Regions from separate parts of the Homo sapiens genome. Here regions 2, 3 and 4 are each linked to region 1. The links are contacts of gene promoters, found by promoter capture Hi-C in blood cells and fetal thymus (Javierre and others, 2016). All regions are on one chromosome and are shown on one strand. Each heading gives the region's core, a stretch centred on a gene start or on the middle of the fragment in contact. The rest is flanking DNA. Distances are from core to core; before and after follow the strand shown. Region 1 holds the start of CPLANE2 (ciliogenesis and planar polarity effector complex subunit 2). Region 2 overlaps ZBTB17 (zinc finger and BTB domain containing 17). Region 3 has its middle 17 kb from the start of UQCRHL. Region 4 overlaps SPEN-AS1 (SPEN antisense RNA 1).

The links. The method cuts DNA at HindIII sites, captures the fragments that hold promoters and counts their contacts. A CHiCAGO score of 5 or more calls a contact.
Region 2: a contact is called between a fragment that was not itself captured here and the fragment with the promoter of CPLANE2 in region 1, in 1 of 17 cell types (fetal thymus). The highest score is 5.6, in fetal thymus.
Region 3: a contact is called between a fragment that was not itself captured here and the fragment with the promoter of CPLANE2 in region 1, in 1 of 17 cell types (activated CD4 T cells). The highest score is 8.6, in activated CD4 T cells.
Region 4: a fragment that was not itself captured here is called in contact with the fragment with the promoter of CPLANE2 in region 1 in 2 of 17 cell types (non-activated CD4 T cells and naive CD4 T cells); the score reaches 6.2 in non-activated CD4 T cells.

What each region holds. Positions count from the first base shown.
Region 1 is chr1:16,235,538-16,240,571 of GRCh38, forward strand. CPLANE2 (ciliogenesis and planar polarity effector complex subunit 2) reads right to left here and starts at 1,646. Exons shown (of 5, transcript NM_030907.4): 1 at 1,094-1,646. The coding sequence starts at 1,205. RefSeq lists an enhancer at 1,139-1,683 and a silencer at 1,524-1,703. The HindIII fragment of the contact is 3,895 bases long and covers 1-2,444 here.
Region 2 is chr1:15,954,861-15,959,921 of GRCh38, forward strand. All of the region lies in intron 2 of ZBTB17 (zinc finger and BTB domain containing 17), which reads right to left. It overlaps LOC124903855 (a long non-coding RNA gene), which reads left to right. Exons shown (of 3, transcript XR_007065486.1): 3 at 1-5,061. Among named protein-coding and RNA genes, the nearest start is that of ZBTB17, 19 kb to the right of the region's middle. The HindIII fragment of the contact is 9,724 bases long and covers 1-5,061 here.
Region 3 is chr1:15,822,479-15,826,811 of GRCh38, forward strand. No RefSeq gene overlaps it. Among named protein-coding and RNA genes, the nearest start is that of UQCRHL, 17 kb to the left of the region's middle. The HindIII fragment of the contact is 2,551 bases long and covers 1,022-3,572 here.
Region 4 is chr1:15,839,844-15,844,716 of GRCh38, forward strand. All of the region lies in intron 1 of SPEN-AS1 (SPEN antisense RNA 1), which reads right to left. Among named protein-coding and RNA genes, the nearest start is that of SPEN, 5.4 kb to the right of the region's middle. RefSeq lists a silencer at 4,715-4,784. The HindIII fragment of the contact is 5,451 bases long and covers 1-4,447 here.

The DNA.
Region 1 (5,034 bases), core at 396-2,895:
TTGAGGCTAGAGTTCACTTATTCCCAGCCATACAGCTAGCAGTGGTGGAGCCTGGGTCACTTGCCTGGGTATGTGTGACCCCAAATACAGTGTTGCCAGCCATCATGGGATTAGAGGGACAGTGGCCATATTAGAGGGTCTTTTTTTTTTTTTTTTTTTTGAGACGGAGTTTCACTCTTGTCACCCAGGATGGAATGCAATGGCTCGATCTAGGGTTGCTGCAACCTCTGCCTTCTGTGTTCAAGCGATTCTCCTGCCTCAGCCTCCCAAGTAGCTGGGATTACAGGTGCCCGCCACCACGTCCGGCTAATTTTTGTATTTTTAGTAAAGATGGGGTTTCGCCATGTTGGCCAGGCTGGTCTTGAACTCCTGACCTCAGGTGATTTGCCCACCTCGGCCTCCCAAAGTGCTGGGATTACAGGCCACTGCGCCCAGCCTTCTAGAGGGTCATTTTTTGAATTTAATATAATTTCTTTTAAAAAAACAAACAAACAGTTGACTTATTCACAAATTTTGGTTCTAGCTATCTCACTCTCTGGTCTTAAGTCTTCTGGCACCTTGCTTCTCCTGGCCAGAGCTGGGCTCCACAGCTGATTCCAGGCACCTCTGCCGGCCTGACAGCTGGGCCCTGCCTGGGTGAGTCAGTTTCACCATGGGGAACACCAGCGTCTCATCCCAGAGACAGCAGGACATGGAAGAGGCTCACCTCTATTTATTGGGGTGTGATCTTAGCCAAGTCTGTACCATGTGCTGTTGAGAGGTTAAATGGGCGTGCACTGTGTAACGTGCCCAACAGAGGGCCTGGCACCAGGGGAGTGCTCAATCAACTGCATCTCTGGTGACAGTGGTTGCTGGCAAGGTTTCTGCTGTTTCCATGTTCCTGGCTCTGACGATGGAATTAGCTCTAAGGAGATTTAGGTGTGGGGGTCCCAGAGCTAGGGCTTTCAGTCCCCCAGGCTGAAGACTGCTGAAGACTGCAGTGGAGCAGGCCCTCACTGCCCTGCCTCTCTGCTCTCCTCAGGGAGCAACAGGTGACACTCTTCTCCCCAGGGAAAGACAAGTGGCGGGCTAGAGGAAAGGGGGAGGCACTTACCAAACACCCGCCGGCGGTTCTTGCGCAGAATGCAAGCCAGGTACTCCTTGCCCTCGGCACTCTCGTGCCAGTTTGGGACAACCACCGAACCGGGCACGGGAGGTCTGGCCATGGCTGGGCACCGCGACGGGGTAGGGAGGTGACAGAATGCTGAGAGCAGGGAGTGGGAAGGGGAGTGACAGTACCAAGCCGGGCCTGTGATCCCTCTTAACTGCCCTCTGACTCTCCCGGGGGGCCCCAGAAAGTGCAGTCCCTCAGCCGCCTCTCTCCTTCGCAATGCTCCCTGGGGATAGTCATCCCATTACTGCCCATGGAGGGTATTCACACAGCCCCTCTCCCCTTGTCACCTCCGGGGGTCAGACAGCCCCGCTTCTCCTCTACCTTCTAGATCCCGACTCCCAGGGCTACCTAGCCCTCCCCGTCAGCAGTCCCGGCGGCGAACCGACCTGGGTGCCGAAGGCCCCTTTAAACGCCCACCCGCACTCCCGCCGCCCCAGCCCGCCGGGCCCACTTCCGCCCCGCCTGCGTCCGCCTTCTGCGCGTGCTGGCAGCTCCGGCGCAGGTGCGCGCGGCGCATGTGCGGAGGTTGTTGCCATGGAGACGCCGGAGGTTGGGTTGGGCGGGTTCCGGGAGGCGTTCGTCCCTCCTACAACGTCCGCAGCCTGCGCCGCGCGGTGGCTCTGGACTAGGCCTTTTCCTCTGGGTTGTGGATCCTCTTCTCTATGACTCCGTCCGATCCCTAGTCTTTCTTCCAAAACATCATGAAACCCCCCCTCCAGGAGCCTTTCATGCTTCTCTGTGTCTCAGTTTCCTCTTCTATAACGTGGACGTAACATGTTATTCCCTCCATAGCAGTGCTCCATATGTTTAGTTATGATTGTTGCTATTATTAATATTATTGCTCTATTAATCCTGCTTGGCAGGACCTCTAGATGACTTAAACATCTCTGGCTTCACTGATGGGGACACACACCAGCTCAGAGAGGTCAAGGGACTTGGCTCAAGTTTTAAAAAATGAGTCAGAGGCCCGCTGGATTGTATTTTTCATTCATTCATTCATTCAACAAATACTGAGCACCTAGCTGGGAATACAGTGGCCAACAAGAAGTCCCTGCTCTCCTGGAGCTGACTTTTCAGCTCTGAAACTCTGAGCTCCTCTCCACCGTTCCAGCACTGGACACCAGGCCTGTTACCCAGAAGGTGGGTGCTCAGTAAATGCCCACTGGTTGGAAAGAGTGCAGGTGGGTCATTACTGAGAGTTTGTCTATTACATTTAATTTTTACCATTATCTTTCCGCAATGCCTTCAAGTAGGGCAAATCACTGTTTTGAAAGGAATAATTTAGGAGTTAAGCTTTACCTAAGGCCACCCAAGTGCCAGACAGTGGGGACTTTACAGGGGTCACCTGATTTAATTCTATAAACAAACCTGTGTAAATAGTATTACCCTCTTGTACTGACGAAGACTCTCAGAAACATAACGTGACTTGTCTGAGGTCACACCGCACAGCTAGTCAGTGTGAAACCGACTCAGAACCCACAGCTGGCTGGGTGTGGTGGCTCACGCCTGTAATCCCAGCACTTTGGGAAGCTGAGGCGGGCAGATTGCTTAAGCTCAGGAGTTTGAGACCAACCTGGGCAACATAGTAAGACCCTGCCTCTACAAAAAAAAAAATACAAAAATTAGCCGGGCACAGTAGTGCACGCCTGTAGTCCCAGCTACTTGGAGGCTGAGATGAGAGGATTGCTTGAGCCCGGGAAATGGAGGTTGCAGTGAGCCGAGATCATGCCACTGCACTTCAGCCTGAGTGACAGAGCTAGGCCCTGTCAAAAAAAAAAAAAAAAAAAAAAAAAGAACCCACACTTACCTGACTCTAAAGTACTTATCTGTTCTGCCAGTTTGGGTTTTGTGTTTTTAAAACTTTGCCCCTAGCCACTAGGAGGGCTGTTCCTAGGGAAGCAGAAAGCAGCCAGAGGACTACGAACTCACAGATTTTTAAGGCCCATTATGTCTAAGAGAGGGGATGAGGATGTGTAAGACAAGGTGCTTTCTCTCAACTTGCTCACGCTGTGGCTAGGCAGAAAAACCAGATGAATAACCATTCCTACAGGATTCTGCAGGTGGAATCCTTTGCCCATACTCCCAGGTCACATGGTTCCCATTCCTGCAGCTGTCACATCTGCCCAGTCAGGGAGATTCACAGCTGTCCAGAGCTCTCTCCATGGGCCAGGAGTCACTCAGTGGCAGGGCTCTGATCTGAATTATTTCTGGATTTCCAGACTTCACATCCACCCATCTTTGGCTCGTGGAGGGCTCAGTGAGCGTGTGAGAAAATGAAGCAACTTGGCAGAATGAACGTGCCTGTTAATCTGCAACCCAGAGAAGATGTAAAGTCCTCTTGGGGCCATGTGCGGTGGCTCACGCCTGTAATCCCAGCACTTTGGGAGGCTGAAGCTGGTGGACCACTTGAGGTCAGGAGTTTGAGACCAGCCTGGGTAACATGGCAAAACCTTATCCCTAAAAATATACAAAAAAATGGCTGGGCGCGGTGGCTCACGCCTGTAATCCCAGCACTTTGGGAGGCTGAGGCGGGCAAATCACCCGAGGTCAGGAGTTCAAGACCAGCCTGGCCAACATGGTGAACCCTGTCTCTACTAAAAATACAAAAATTATCTGGCTGTGATGGCAGGCGCCTGTAATCCCAGCTACTCTGGAGGTTGAGGCAGAAGAATCGCTTGAACCTGGGAGGTGGAGGTTGCAGTGAGCAGAATCATATCACTGCACTCCAGCCTGGGTGACAGAGCTGAATAAATAAAATTATGTATTCAGTGGAAGGCTGATCAAGGACTCAAAAGAATGCAATCTTTTGTCTCCTATCTACTTTTTTTTTTTTTGAGACAGAGTCTCACTCTGTCGCCCAGGCTGGAGTGCAGTGGCACAATCTCGGCTCACTGCAACCTCTGCCTCTGAGGTTCAAGTGATTCCCCTGCCTCAGCCTCCCAGGTAGCTGGGACTATAGGCATGCCCCACCATGTCCGGCTAATTTTTGTTGTTGTTGTATTTTAGTAGAGACGGGGTTTCACCATGTTGGCCAGGATGGTCTGGATCTCCTGACCTCATGATCCGCCCACCTCAGCCTTCCAAAGTGCTGGGATTATAGGCATGAGCCACTGCACCTGGCCTTGTCTCTTATGTATTTCTAACCTGGAAGCCCCTGCTTCAAGCTGTCCTGTCTTACCAGACCAAACCAATGTACATCTTACACATATTGATTGAGGTCTCATGTCTCCCTAAAACTTAAATGCAAACTGTACCCCTGACCACCTTGGGTATATGTCTCAGGATTTCCTGAGGCTGTCACGGGCACATCCTTAACCTTGGCAAAATAAACTTTCTAAATTGACTGTGACCTGTCTCAGATATTTGGGGTTCACACATCCAACCCCGACATTCTGTGTCAGGGGCTGGGTAGGTCTGTGAGCCTGCAGATTTGACAAAAGCACTAGGCAGTTCTGAAGTTGGGGTCTATATGAGTCAGCCCAGGCTGCTGTAACAAAAATACCACAGTCTGGGTACTCTAAACAACAGAAATTTATTTTCTCATAGTTCTAGAGGCTGGAAGTCCAAGATCAAGGTGCCAGCAGAGTTGGTTTCTGGGTGGGGCCTCTCTTCCTGGCTTACAGATGGCCTCTTCTCTGTGCTTATACATGTCTGGTGTCTCTTCCTCTGTTACAAATAGGACATTAGTCCTACTGGATTAGGGCTCCATGCTTATGGTCTCATTTAACCTTGATTACCTTTTTCTTTTATTTTTTGAGACAGGGCCTCACTCTGTCACCCAGGCTAGAGGGCAGTGGTGTGATCTCAGCTCACTGCAGCCACGACCTCCTCAGGCTCAAGCAATCCTCCTGCCTCAGCCCCGAGGGGAGCTAGGACTACAG
Region 2 (5,061 bases), core at 2,519-5,018, 280 kb before region 1:
TAAAAAACTTCTGGCCAGGTGCGGTGGCTCACGCCTATAATCCCAGCACTTTGGGAGGCCGAGGCTGGCGGATCACTTGAGGTCAGGAGTTTGAGGCCAGCCTGGCCAACATGGCAAAGCCCATTTCTACTAAAAATACAAAAATTAGCTGGGTGTGGTGGTGCGCACCTGTAGTCCCGGCTACTCGGGAGGCTGAGGCAGGAGAATCACTTGAACCCGGGAGGCGGAGGTAACAGTGAGCCAAGATCACACCACTGCACTCCAGCCTGGGCCACAGAGTGAGACTCTGTCTCCAAAAACAAACAAACAAACAAACAAATGAAAACTTCCAAGGAAATGGAAGTTCACACCAGGCCAGGCTTGTGAGCATGAAACCTACCTGCCCAACCCCACCAACCACCCCAGTTTGACAACATATCCCTTTGAGTGCAAGACATGGCAGAGAAGCAAAAATGAACAAAACCAACCCTGCTGGCACTTTCCTCCTCACCCAGCAAACACTCTTCTTGTATTAAGATTGGATTTCTCAAACTTTTAAAATCACTTTCTCCTTTAGATAAACATATAAATCTTGGCTCCTCCCGACAACCTGATTCTGATATTTCCACTGGAGAGTACCCATTCCCAGCATAAGAATCACTGCTATCTCTACACAGTCCCACCAGCCAAGGTTCAGCAGTATTTTCGGAAGTTTGTATTATAAAAAAACAGATTTTTTTAAATCTTAAAAATGTCTAAATATAAAATGCAGTTATGATGCTGACTTTGCTTTTCAAACTATACAACTACCGCTATCTTTCAGATTTAGGCCAAGTGCAATGGCTCACACCTGTAATCCTAGTACTTTGGGAGGCCAAGGCTGGAGGATCACTTTAAAGAGGCCAGAAACTTGAGACCAGCCTGGGCAACATAGTGAGACCCCATGTCTACAAAATAAAAATTAGAATATTAGCTGGGCGTGAGCTATGACTGCACCACTGCACTCCAGCCTAGGTGACAGAGGGAGACCCTATCAACATCCACAACTAAAGTTTAGCCACACTTTTGAGGGGGCAGACACCCCTCTGCCTGATCCCTGATGGACCCCACTGCTCTAGGACTATGCACAAAAGGGAAGGCTGGCAGGCCCTGAAAAAGAGCTGTCCAGGATTCCAGCAGCCCAGGCCAGCTTAGAATCCACTGTGCTAGTACGCATACCAGGGACTTGTAAAGCTCAACACAGGGTAAATTAAGGGGCCTTCCTGCCAAAAAGACAAAATCACGACATCTGGGACTTGGGCAGTACCTGATCATTCCCCAAGGCACACACACCCATCAGCCACAAATACTTCCCAAGTGTCAAGCAATGGCACTGACACCACCTTAAATGACACAGTGTGTCACCTCCTCTCTCCTACCAGTTTAATAAACTCACTGCAAGGTGGGGCTACTTCTTATTTCTTCCTTACAGCTGTTTATAGCACATTACCCAGAACCCTGCTTTCAAGTGGTTACAGATCAAGTAGGGAACAGGCCTGTTGAGAGCAGAGATCCCTGGCTTTTTTGAGAATGACTAACACAATGTCAAAGTATTTCCTAGACCCTTATGAAATGACAGTTGTACTTCTGGTGCTTGTTAACTGATAAAATAATAGAAAAAAGCCACTATGAAAAAGTGAATGTCCATTCCATTAATCACAAAGGCATTTAAGCAACAATTCTATGTACATGGATGAGAAATTTCCCCAATATAGAGAAAATCAGTGGGGTGATACAGCTGCTCATCTACTCATAATTATTGCATTGCCCTTTAGGGGTGCTCAGCCTATAAATTAGGAAACAGATACATAGAGAGAGAGGACTAATGAATTTCACAAATGTCTAATGAGAGTCTACCTTGTGTTTGTCCTAGGTACTATGTTAGAACTTCAAACTGAGTGGGGAAGACAGGTAATAAATGGGTATAATAAACAATGGCAGCTACCAAGTGCTGTGGAGAAACTAAAGCAAGCTGAGCAGATCGAGAGGCAGGGGCTATTTACTATTTAAGAAAGGAGGCGGCCGGGCACAGTGGCTCACGCCTGTAATCCCAGCACTTTGGGACGCTGAGGCGGGTGGATCACGAGGTCAGGAGTTCAAGACCAGCCTGGCCGACATAGTGAAACCCCATCTCTACTAAAAATATAAAAAATTAGCCGGGCATGGTGGTGGGTGCCTGTAATCCCAGCTACTCAAGAGGCTGAGGCAGGAGAATGCTTGAACCTGGGAGGCAGAGGTTGCAGTGAGCCAAGATCGTGCCACTGCACTCCAGCCTGGGTGACAGTGAGAGACTCCATCTCAAAAAAAAAAAAAAAAAGTAAAAATAAAGGAGGCAAGGGGGACCTCAGAGGAGGTGGCATTTAAGCAAAGACCTGAATGAGGTTTAAGAGGGAGCTAGGCCACTGTATGCCCAGGGACCATCACAGACATGAGAAGAGCAGATGCAAAAACCCTGAGGCGGGCATGACTTTGGCACAGGGGCCGGTGTGTGTGGAGAGGAGGAGGTGTGTGGCACAGGGGCCGGTGTGTGTGGAGAGGAGGAGGTGTGTGGCACAGGGGCCGGTGTATCTGGAGAGGAGCAGGTGTGCATGAGAATGACAGCAGCAGGGGCTGAGCTCGCCCAGGGTCTCAGGGACACAGCGGACTTTGGATTTCTTCTAAGTGCACTGGGATGCCTTGGGAGTGACGAAGAGTGACAGAAAAGAGCAGAAGAGTGAGGTTCCTAAAAGGCCCCTCTGACTGCAGTGCAAAGACAGACCGCAAGGAGGCTTAGTAGGGGCCCCAGTTAGGCTACTACAGTAGAGAAGAGACAGCAGTGGCCTCACCAAGGAGGTAGAAAACAGGCGAGAAGAGGTTATATTAGGAATATGTTTTGGCAGAGCCAACACCATTAGCTGATCAAGCAGATGTGCGTTGTGACAGAAGGAAAGGAGTCAAGGATGACACTAAGATCTGTGCCCGGAGACACTGGCCCAGTGGCGGTGCCGCTTCCTGAGAGGAGGAGGAGTGGCAGGAGGAGACTCCGTGGGGGGAATCAGAGTTCTGTTCTGGCCAATTACAGCTGAGATGTCTGCTTGTAGAGACGGTAATTAAAGCCACAAGGTGGAACAAGATATCCATGGAAGCAGGTATTGGATAAACAAGAGAAGAAACCAATGGACTCAGAATCCCAGCTCCAAACTTAACACAGTGACCTCAGGCAAGCATCTCTGAGTTTTAGATTGCTCACCTGTAAAATAGGAAAACCACCATAAATACGAGTGTGCAATGAGACAACTAGCAGATAGGAAGTGTTGCCCAAATATTGGCAAAAGTAGAACTAGATATTACTTCTCTAACACAGCTCTGTGACTGAAACACAGTTAAAACAAAAGGGAAATGATGAACTAATAAAACAAAAACAAACCAGATGATCCCAAGTGACCTCCCTGCACCAGGGGAGCACAGGGCCCCTGTCAAACAGGACAGCAGCTGGCCAAAGCCTTGGGAAGGCGGCTGACGGAAGCTAACAGAGCCACAGCCTGGTCCAATACGACCAAAAAAAAAAAAAAAAAAACACACAGGTGTTGCTTCTCTCTGGCTGCAGCCTTCCACCGTCAGGCCTTTGTTATGGAGCAACTCAGGGCAGAAGGCCTGGGAACTCAATTTCAATATAGAGGGATTCGGGGGTCCAATCTCCATAACTGGTGGGCTGAGGGGATGGTGGAGTGGAGGTTTACTTCAAAGTCCACTGCAAAGTGCCAGGGGCCCTGGGATAAGGCTGGGTCTGAGCCCCAGCCCCTTGACCTTCACTGGGGCAGAAGGACAGTGTGATGAGTGCTGAATGGGGGCTGCCGAAGCGCCAGCCTGGGACGACGTGACCACACCTAAAGACAGACGAAGGCAAGAAAGACCTTTGGGCAGGGGACAGCATAAGCAATGATGGCTGAGGGGCCAGGTGGAGAAGGGGGATCATGCCCCAGCACACAGGAGGGAGGGGACAAAGTGATGGGAAACACAGCTGGAGGGCCAGGCTGGGGCTAGGCACTTGGGCTGGGACCACCACACCAGGCCTCAGTGACAACCTTGGCAGTCAGGAGTCACACTGGGACTTGAAAGGGGGAGATGAAGTCCCACTGGGCTGGACCCTTGGGATAGGAAAAATGGGATGATGTCACCCCCAGGTGGCCCTAGAAGGGTTTAGCTGGTGCCAAGAATCCAACACACACTTACATGATTCTTTCTGGCAGCCTGAACCAGTGGCCTTCCCACTAAATACTATTAAATCCTCTAAAAGTTTTAAGCACCTCTTCTTGGAGTAGCTCAAAGTCTCTTAAAATTTAGTACCTGACCCTTCCCAGTGGAAGGTGGGCCATGCCATTTGTCCAAAACTATGAGCCCAGGCTAAGAATGTACACATTTTACTTATTTTTAAAAGACAACGTCCACATTTCTGTAGGGTATACACAAAACTGGTAAAGAGAAGCCCCTCAGGGGAGCAGGGGAAGTGGGGAAGGAGCTCAACTTTTCACTATATATCCTTTCTGTGCTGTTTCACCACTTGTAAACACTATCTATTAAAAAATTAAAACTGAGAAAGCTAAAGAACAATGGAGAGAAAAAGAGGAGGGAAGGGAAGGAAGAGGGAGGAGAGGGAGGGAGGGAGGGAGGGAGGAAGGGAGGGAGGAGAGGGAGGGAGGAAAGGAGGAAGCAACAGGGAAGAGAAGGAGGAGAGGGAGAGAGTAGACAGAGGGAAGGAGGGAGGAGAGGGAGGAGAGGAAGGGAGGGAGGGAGGTCCCAGCTATCTGGGAGGCTGAGGTGGGAGGATCACTTAAGCCCAGGAGTTTTGAGGCTGCAGCAAGCTATGATCACACCACTGCACTCCAGCATAGGCAACAGAGCAAAACTCTGTCAAAAAATAAAAATAAAAAAGACAGAAAAGAAAGAAAGAAAATAAATGCCTGCAAAGTCAGAGACCTAAGTCCTTTATTTCTATCTATCATAAAATCTTTAAGACATTTTCTACAAGACCTAGTGACTGAAAACTTCTCAAAGGAAAAAATT
Region 3 (4,333 bases), core at 1,047-3,546, 410 kb before region 1:
GTGATTCTTAGGAGGAGTGAGAAAGGTCCCACGAAGTAGGTAATTCAAGGGATATCTCAGAATCCCTCGAAATCCTGATATTCCATTTCAGAAGACAGCTTTCCTCAACCACCCCCAATTTCTCCCTGTCCCCCAGGCTGGAGTGCAGTGGTGTGATCTTAGCTCACTGCAACATCTGCCTCCCAATGCCCCAAAATTGAATCCAATCCCTCAATCACTACCAGTATAAATCAATGTAAATGACAGAAGTATAGTGTGTGCTAGGACAAAGGAAAAACAGGTGAAGACCTTATTCTACATAAGCTGGAGAGCAACATTTCATAAATAATTAGAAAATGTACACTTAACCATATACTACTGCTAGGCTTCATCCAAAGTGACAAATATCAAAAAATAAAAAATTGTGGGCTGGGCGCAGTGGCTCACGCCAGTAATTCCAGCACTTTAGGAGGCCAAGGCGGGCAGATCACCTGAGGTCAGGAGTTCCAGACCAGCCTGGCCAACATGGTGAAACCCCACCTCTACCAAAAATACAAAAATTAGCTGGGTGTGGTGGCACATGCTTATAGTCCAAGCTACTTGGGAGGCTGAGGCAGGAGAATGGCTTGAACCCTAGAGGTTGAGGCTGCAGTGAGCCAAGATCACACCATCACCCTCCGGCCTGGGCGACAGAGTGACAAGACTCCATCTCAAAAAAAAAAAAAAAAAAAAAATTGTTGGCTGGGCACGGTGGCTCACATCTGTAATCCCTACACTTTGGGAGGCTGAGGCAGGGGGATCACCTGAGGTCAGGAGTTCGAGACCAGCCTGACCAACATGGAGAAACCCCATCTCTACTAAAAATACAAAATTAGCCCAGCGTGATGGCGCATGCCTGTAATCCCAGCTATTCAGGAAGCTGAGGCAGGAGAATTGCTTGAATCCTGGAGGTGGAGGTTTCAGTTAGCAGAGATCGTGCCATTGCACTCCTGCCTGGTCAACAAGAGTGAAACTCCATCTCAAAAAAAAAAAAAAAAAAAAAAGCTTCAATAGCTATTAGGCATAAATGTTGCAGGATAAAATATACATGATACTTTATATCTGTATTTAATCACATGTTCCAATAAAGAATGATAAAGTAATACATTGAAAATACAAATTGGCCAAGCACAGTGACTCACGCCTGTAATCCTAGCACTTTGGGAGGCCCAGGTGAGTGGATCATCTGATCTCAGAAGTTGGAGACCAGCCTGGGCAACATGGAGAAGCCCCATCTCTATCAAAAATACAAAATATTAGCCGGGTGTAGTGGCATCACCTGTAGTCCCAGCTACTCAGGAGGCTGAGCCGGATGATTAAAAAAAGAAAATACACATTTTGACTTGTTTTTTTTTTTTTTTTTTTTTTTGAGTGGGAGTTTCACTTTTGTTTTCCAAGCTGGAGTGCAATGGTGTGGTCTCTGTTCATTGCAACCTCTGCCTCCTGGGTTCAAGCAATTCTCCTGCCTTAGCCTCCGGAGCAGCTGGGATTACAGGGGCGTGCCACCATACCCAGGAAATTTTTTGTGTTTTTAGTAGAGATGGGGTTTCACTATGTTGGCCAGGCTGGCCCTGAACTCCTGACCTCAGGTTATCCACCTGCCTTGGCCTCCCAAAGTGCTGGGATTACAGGGGTAAGCCACCGAGCCTGGACTTGACTTTTGATTATATTTATCAGTACATAGAATTCTGAAGGTGAGCTGGGTTGGGTGGCTCATGCCTCTAATTCCAGCACTTTGGAAGCCCGAGGCAGGCAGATCACTGGAGGTCAGAAGCTCGAGACCAGCCTGGCCAACATGGCAAAACCCCTTCTCTACTAAAAAACACAAAAATGAGGCTGGACGCGGTGGCTCACGCCTATAATCCCAGCACTTTGGAGGCTGAGGTGGGCGGATCACGAGGTCAGGAGATAGAGACCATCTTGGCCGACATGGTGAAACCCTGTCTCTACTAAAAATACAAAAATTACTTGGGCGCAGTGGCACGTGCTGGTAATCCCAGCTACTCAGAAGACTGAGGCAGGAGAATCGCTTGAACCTGGGAGGTGGAGGTGGCAGTGGGCCGAGATCACGCCACTGCACTCCAGCCTGGTGACAGAGCTAGACTGTGTCTCAAAAAAAAAAAAAAAAAATTAGCCGCCTGTGGTGGCGCATGCCTGTAATCCCAGCTACTTGGGAGGCTGAGGCAGAAGATTGCTTGAACCTGGGAGGCTGCAGCTATAATAAGCCGAGATTGCACCACTGCACTCCAGCCTGGGTGACAGAGGAAGACTCCGTCTCAAAAAAAAAAAATTTATGAAATTCTGAAGGTGGAGCTTGACCCCAAAGTGATATATCTGTTTTCCTTTTTTTCTTTTTTTTTTGAGACGGAGTCTCACTCTGTCACCCAGGCTGGAGTGCAGTGGCACGATTTCAGCTCACTGCAACCTCCACCTCCTGGGTTCAAGTGATTCTCCTGCCTTAGCCCCACGAGTAGCTGGGATTACAGGCATGAGCTACCACGCCCAGCTAATTTTGTATTTTTAGTAGAGACGGGGTTTCTCCATGTTGGTCAGGCTAGTCTTGAATTCCAGACCTCAGGTGATCTGCCTGCCTCAGCCTCCCAAAGTGCTAGGATTACAGGCATGAGCCACCGCGACCAACCTTAATATTTGTATTTTATTAGAGATGGGGTTTCACCGGGTTGGCCAAGCTGGTCTTGAACTCCTGACCTCAGGCAATCCACCCATCTCGGCCTCCCAAAGTGCTGGGATTACAGGTGTGAGCCACCGTGCCCAACCCACGTTTTCAAATTAAGCACGTAGACAATCTTTTTATTTCACTGTTGTTCACTGGGATGTGGTAGAACTAGAGCAGGGTCCAATATGGGGGAAGAAAGTCTTTTAAAAAGAAAATTATGGCTGGGTGCGGTGGCTCACGCCTGTAATCCCAGCACTTTGGAAGGCCAAGGCAGGTGGGTCATGAGGTCAGGAATTCGAGACCAGCCTGGACAACATGGTGAAACCCCGTCTCTACTAAAAATACAACAATTAAGCGGGTGTGGTGGCACATGCCTGTAATCCCAGCTACTCAGGAGGCTGAGGCAGGGGAACCACTTGAACCTGGGAGGCAGAGGTTGCAGTGAGCAGAGATCAGGCCACTGCACTCCAGCCTGGGTGACAGAGCGTGACTCTGTCTCAAAAAAAAAAAAAAAAAGTAAAGAAAAATACAGCCGGGCACAGTGGCTCACGCCTGTAATCCTAGTACTTTGGGAGACAGAGGCAGCAGGATCTTTTGAGCTGGAGTTCTCCCAGCCAAGAAATAATTTATTATTCATGTTATCATGGAGCAGATATGAGGGTAGAAGGAGACCACATCCTGGGAGTGTAACAATTCCTCCAGAAGCCCTAAGGTTTTGAGTTCCCTCTTGCTGCACTGACCCAGGAACTTCCTAAAACAGAAGGTACTTTCCAACATCACAGTCTCTGGCATCTTCCCCTCTAAGCCTCACTGTCAGACTTTTCCAAAGGTCATACTTACTGTTTTTTTTTTTTTTTTCTTCAATCCATTCCAATCAAGCTTTTGCCTCCTACTCCACCCAGACAGCTTGTGTCAAGGTCACCCATGACTTCCACTTATTCATACAACACTCAATTTTCATGCCTCAGCTTAATCTCTCAGCAGCATTTCATAGTTGACCATTCCCTTCACTTTTTTTTTTTTTTTTTTTTGAGACCGAGTCTTACTCTGTCATCCAGGCTGGAGTGAAGTGGTGCGATCTCGGCTCACTGCAACCTCCGCCTCCCGGGTTCAAGCAATTCTCCTGCTTCAGCCTGTCGAGCCAGCATTCCTGTGCGTCACCATTCCCGGCTAATTTTTGTATTTTTACTAGAGACGGGGTTTCACTATGTTAGTCAGGCTGGTCTCGAACTCTTGACCTCGTGATCTGCCCGCCTCGGCCTCCCAAAGTGCTGGGATTACAGGCGTTAGCCACCGAGCCCTGCCCAAGCCGAGCTAATTTTTTTTTTTTTTTTTTTGAGATGGAGTTTCACTCTTGTTGCACAGGCTGGAGTGCAATGGCACAATCTCAGCTCACCGCAACCTCTGCCTTCCAGGTTCAAGCGATTCTCCTGCCTCAGCCTCCCAAGTAGCTGGGATTACAGGCATGCGCCACCACAACCAGCTAATTTTGTATTTTCAGTAGAGAGGGGTTTCTCCATGTTGGTCAGGCTGGTCTCGAACTCCCAGCCTCAGGTGATCTGCCCGCCTGAGCCTCCAAAAGTGCCGGGATTACAGGCATGAGCCATCACACCTGGCCAATTTTTGTGTTTTTTTAGT
Region 4 (4,873 bases), core at 472-2,971, 400 kb before region 1:
TAGTCCCAGCTACTTAGGAGGCTGAGGCAGGAGAATCCCTTGAACCCAGGAGGCGGAGATTGCAGTGAGCCAAGATTGCACCACTGTACTCCAGCCTGGGTGACAGAGTGAGACCTGGTCTCAAAAAAAAAAAAGCCGGGTGTGGTGGCATGGGCCTGTGGTCCCAGCTACTCAGGAGGCTAAGGCTGGAGGATTGCTTAAGCCCAGGAGGTTGAGGCTGCAGTAAGGTGATCACACCACTGCACTCCAGCCTGGGAAACAGAGCAACCCGATCTCAAAGAATAATAAAATAAAAGTAATACCTGTTAACCAAAGAAAAACTTAGAAAATATAGAGGAATAATTTTTTTTTTGATGGAGTCTTACTCTTTTGCCCAGGCTGGAGTGCAGTAGCTTGATCTCGGCTCACTGCAACCTCTGCCTGCCGGGTTCAAGTGATTCTCCTGCCTTAGCCTCCCAAGTAGCTGTGATCACAGGTGGCCACCACCATGCCCGGCTAATTTTTTTTTTTGTTTGAGATGGAGTCTTACTCTGTTGCCCAGGCTGGAGTGCAGTGGCGCGATCTCGGCTCATGGCAACCTCCACCTCCCAGGTTCAAGCAATTCTCCTGCCTCACCCTCCTGAGTAGCTGAGACTACAGGAACTCGCCACCAAGCCCGGCTAATTTTTTGTATTTTTAGTAGAGACGGGGTTTCACCGTGTTAGCCAGGATGGTCTCTGTCTCCTGACCTCATGATCCGCTCGTCTCGGCCTCCCAAAGTGCTGGGATTACAGGTGTGAGCCACCGTGCCAGGCACTTGTATTCTTTTTTTTTTTCGAGATGGAGTCTTGCTCTGTCACCCAGGCTGGAGTGCAGTGGCATGATCTCAGCTCACTGCAACCTCTGCCTCCCGGGTTCAAGCGATTCTCCTGCCTAAGCCTCCCAAGTAGCTGGGATTAGAGGTACACGCCACCCTGCCCAGATAATTTTTTTTTTTTTTTAGAGACAGAGTCTTGCTCTGTTGCCCAGGCTGCAGTGCAGTGGTGTGATCTTGGCTCACTGCCACCTCTGCCTCCTGGGTTCAAGCAGTTCTCCTGCCTCAGCCGCCCGAGTAGCTGGGATTACAGGTGTGAATCACTGTGCCCGGCCTTAATTTTTGTATTCTTATTAGAGACGGGGTTTCCCCATATTGGCCAGGCTGGTCTCAAACTCTTGACCTTGTGTTCTATCCACCTTGGCCTCCCAAAGTGTTGGGATTACAGGCGTGAGCCACCGCGCCCGGCCCTAATTTTTGTATTTTTAGTAGAGACGGGGTTTCACCATGTTGGCCAGGCTGGTCTCGAACTCCTGACCTCAGGTGATCCACTGGCCTCAGCCTCCCAAAGTACTGTGATTACAGGCATGCGCCATTGCTCCCAGCCAGGAATAAAATTTTTTTAAAAAATTCAAATTCTACCACATAGGCATTAACCATGATTAACATTTGCAAATATCTTTCCAGTCTATTTTCCACTCAATTACACAAATATTGGTAAACTGCATTAGTAATTCTTAGTATTAAGTATATTGCCAGTATTTCCTCACAGGGGGAAAAATGTTACTTTTAGCAACTTTCCAGAAATAAACAATGGTAGAAACTTAAGAACTGATTTAAAAATATATCAGCCAGTATATTCATTTCTGAAAAACTAAAAATAACACGGAATAAATTATTTAGCTTTCTTAGAGGGTTGAACAGTAAAGTACCATATGAAGTGTTTTTTTTTTTTATCGGAGTCCACTCTGTTGCCCAGGCTCACTGCAACTTCTTCCTCCCAGGTTCAAGTGATTCTCCTGCCTAAGACTCCTGAGTAGCTGGGATTACAGGTGCATGCCACCATGCCCAGCTAATTTTTGTATTTTTAGTAGAGACGGGGTTTCACTATATTGGCCAGGCTAGTCTGGAACTCCTGACCTCAGGTGATCCACCTGTCTGGGCCTCCCAGAGTGCTGGGGTTACAGGCGTGAGCCAACCGTGCCTGGCTCTGTTATAAAGTATTAGCTTGCTTAAAGAATGGATCTGCGCTGGGTGCAGTGGCTCACACCTATAACCCCAGCACTTTGGGAGGCCAAGGCTGGCAGATCCCTTGAGTTCGGGAGTTCAAGACCAGCCTGGGCAATATGGAGACGCCTCTACAAAAAAATACCAAAAACAATTAACTGGGCCTGGTGGTGTGCGCCTGTAGACTCTGCTACTAGGTGGGAGGATGGCTTGAGCCTGGGAGGCAGAGGTTGCAGTGAGCTAAGATTGCACCACTATACTCCAGCCTGGGCGACAGAGGGAGACCCTGTCTCAAAAAAAAAAAAAAAAAAAAAAAAAAGAACTAGAGGACTAGCTAGCTAATATTTTCAATTCTTTGGAGTTCTGATAATTTATTTATTTATTTATTTATTTAGAGATGGAGTTTCGCTCGTTGCCCAGGCTGGAGTGCAATGGCGCGATCTTGGCTCACTGCCGAGATCAAACACCCTTTAATAATATTACAGTGGTGTTGCGTTTTATTTTCTGTTATTTTGGGGAAAAAATTTGGTTCTAATAGTACGAGTTTGTTGGTATTGTCAAATTCTCATGTGGTTGGGGCTTTGTTCATTTTATAGCTAGTTAATATTATATTATTTTATTTTATTTTATTTACTTATTTTTTGAGATGCAGTCTCACTGTCGTCCAGGCTGGAATGCACTGGCACGATCTTGGCTCACTGCAACCTCTGCCTCCTGGGTTCAAGCAATTGTCTGTCTCAGTCTCCCGAGTAGCTGGGATTCTAAGCGCCCGCCACCACACCTGGCTAATTTTTTTGTATGTTTAGTAGAGATGGGGTTTCACCATCTTGACCAAGCTGGTCTTGAACTCCTGACCTTGTGATCCACCCGCCTCGGCCTCCCAAAGTGCTAGGATTACAGACATGAGTCACTGTGCCTGGCCAGTTATATGATTTTATATGATGCCTTTTATATATTTTATATGATGCCTTTAAGAAGAAATACGCAGGTGGATCTCCTGTGGTCAGGAGTTCCAGACCAGCCTGGCCAACATGGTGAAATCCTGTGTCTACTAAAAATACAAAAATTAGCTGGGTGTGGTGGTGTGCACCTTAGTCCTAGCTACTAGGGAGTCTGAGGTGGGAGGATCGTGTGGACCTGGGAGGTGGAGGTTGCAGTGAGCTGAGGTGGCACCATTGTACTCCAGCCTGGGCGACAGAGCAAGACTCCATCTCAAAAGAAAAAAAGAAGAATTTTTTTTATATTTTATATATATTTTATTTTATTTTTATATTTTGGGCTGGGCGCAGTGGCTCACACTTGTAATCCCAGCACTTTGGAAGGCCTAGGCAGGTGGATCACTTGAGGTCAGTGTTTCGAGATCAGCCTGGCCAACATGGTGAAAACCCATCTCTACTAAAAACACAAAAATTAGCCGGGCGTGGTAGCAGGCACCTGTAGTCCCAGCTACTCAGGAGGCTGAAGCACAAGAATCTCTTGAACCTGGAAGGTGGAGGTTGTAGTGACCCCAGATCACGCCACTGCACTCCAGCCTGGGCAACAGAGCAAGACTGTCTCAAAATAAAAAAAGAAGAAATGCATATATATATATTTTTTTCTTTTTTTTTTTTTTGAGACAGAGTCTCGCTCTGTTGCCCAGGCTGGAGTGCAGTGGCGTGATCTGGGCTCACTGCAACCTCTGCTTCCCGGGTTCAAGCGATTCTCCTGCCTCAGCCTCCCGAGTAGCTGAGACTACAGGTGCATACCACCATGCCCGGCTAATTTTTTGTATTTTTAGTAGAGATGGGTTTTCACTGTGTTAGCCAGGATGGTCTTGATCTCCTGACCTTATGATCGGCCTCCCAGAGTGCTGGGATTACAGGCGTGAGCCACCAGGCCCGGCCAAAATGCTTATATTTTAAGTGCATGTTTTCTCCTGAAACAGCTTAATTTTAATAGCTTGGGACCTGACTTGTAACCAAATTCTTGTTAAAATCTGATAACTATCCTGTCCTGTTTAAATGGAGATATTATTTTACTACTCTACTGGCTGGGTTAGCATTCAAAGCCTGAGTTGGAGGCTCAGACGCTTTTTCCATCTGAGCTTTCATTACGCATGACTGAACTCTTTGAGCATGTCTAGCATGCTAAATACAGCAGCTCCTCACAGTGTGAAAATAAAACCTGATTAAAAACAAATCTATTTTAATTCCACTTTGCAAATGGCTCTGCTTTAATGTCAGCTTTCTGAATTATCTTTAGTAATCAAATGAGGAAATTCACTTCACCATCCGTTTATCATAGATAAATCACAACCTACTTTTTGATCTTTTTCAGTGAGCATCAATTATTGTTAAATAAAAAAACATCAGAGAATAACAGAGTGGGTTGCCTTTCTATTGAAAACATAACAAAGATACATGCTTTAAAGAAGTTCTGCCCCTGTAAAGCTTTGTAACAGGAATACAAATGGAGAAAAGCTTTTCTGGTGTTTTTTGATGCATTGTCAGCAAAAATGAAAAGCACTGAGAAAATCAAAAACTTGATTTGGGGCTGAGCAAAGGGCATGTACTTATCAGTTTTGTTATTAAGAGCTTTTGCAATAGAAACAGTCAACCAAAAAAAAAAAAAAGCAAGAAACTTCATACTTGACATGCAATCACTATATCCTGATTTGACTACAGGACCTGGCTATAATGGTGAAAATGGTTTTTTTTTTTTTTTTTTTTTTTTGAGACTGAGTCTCACTCTGTCGCTCAGGCTGGAGTGCAGTGGCACGATCTCGGCTCACTGTAACCTCTGCCTCCCGGGTTCAAGTGATTCTCCTGCCTCAGCCTCTCGAGTAGCTGGGATTACAGGTGAGCACCACCACGC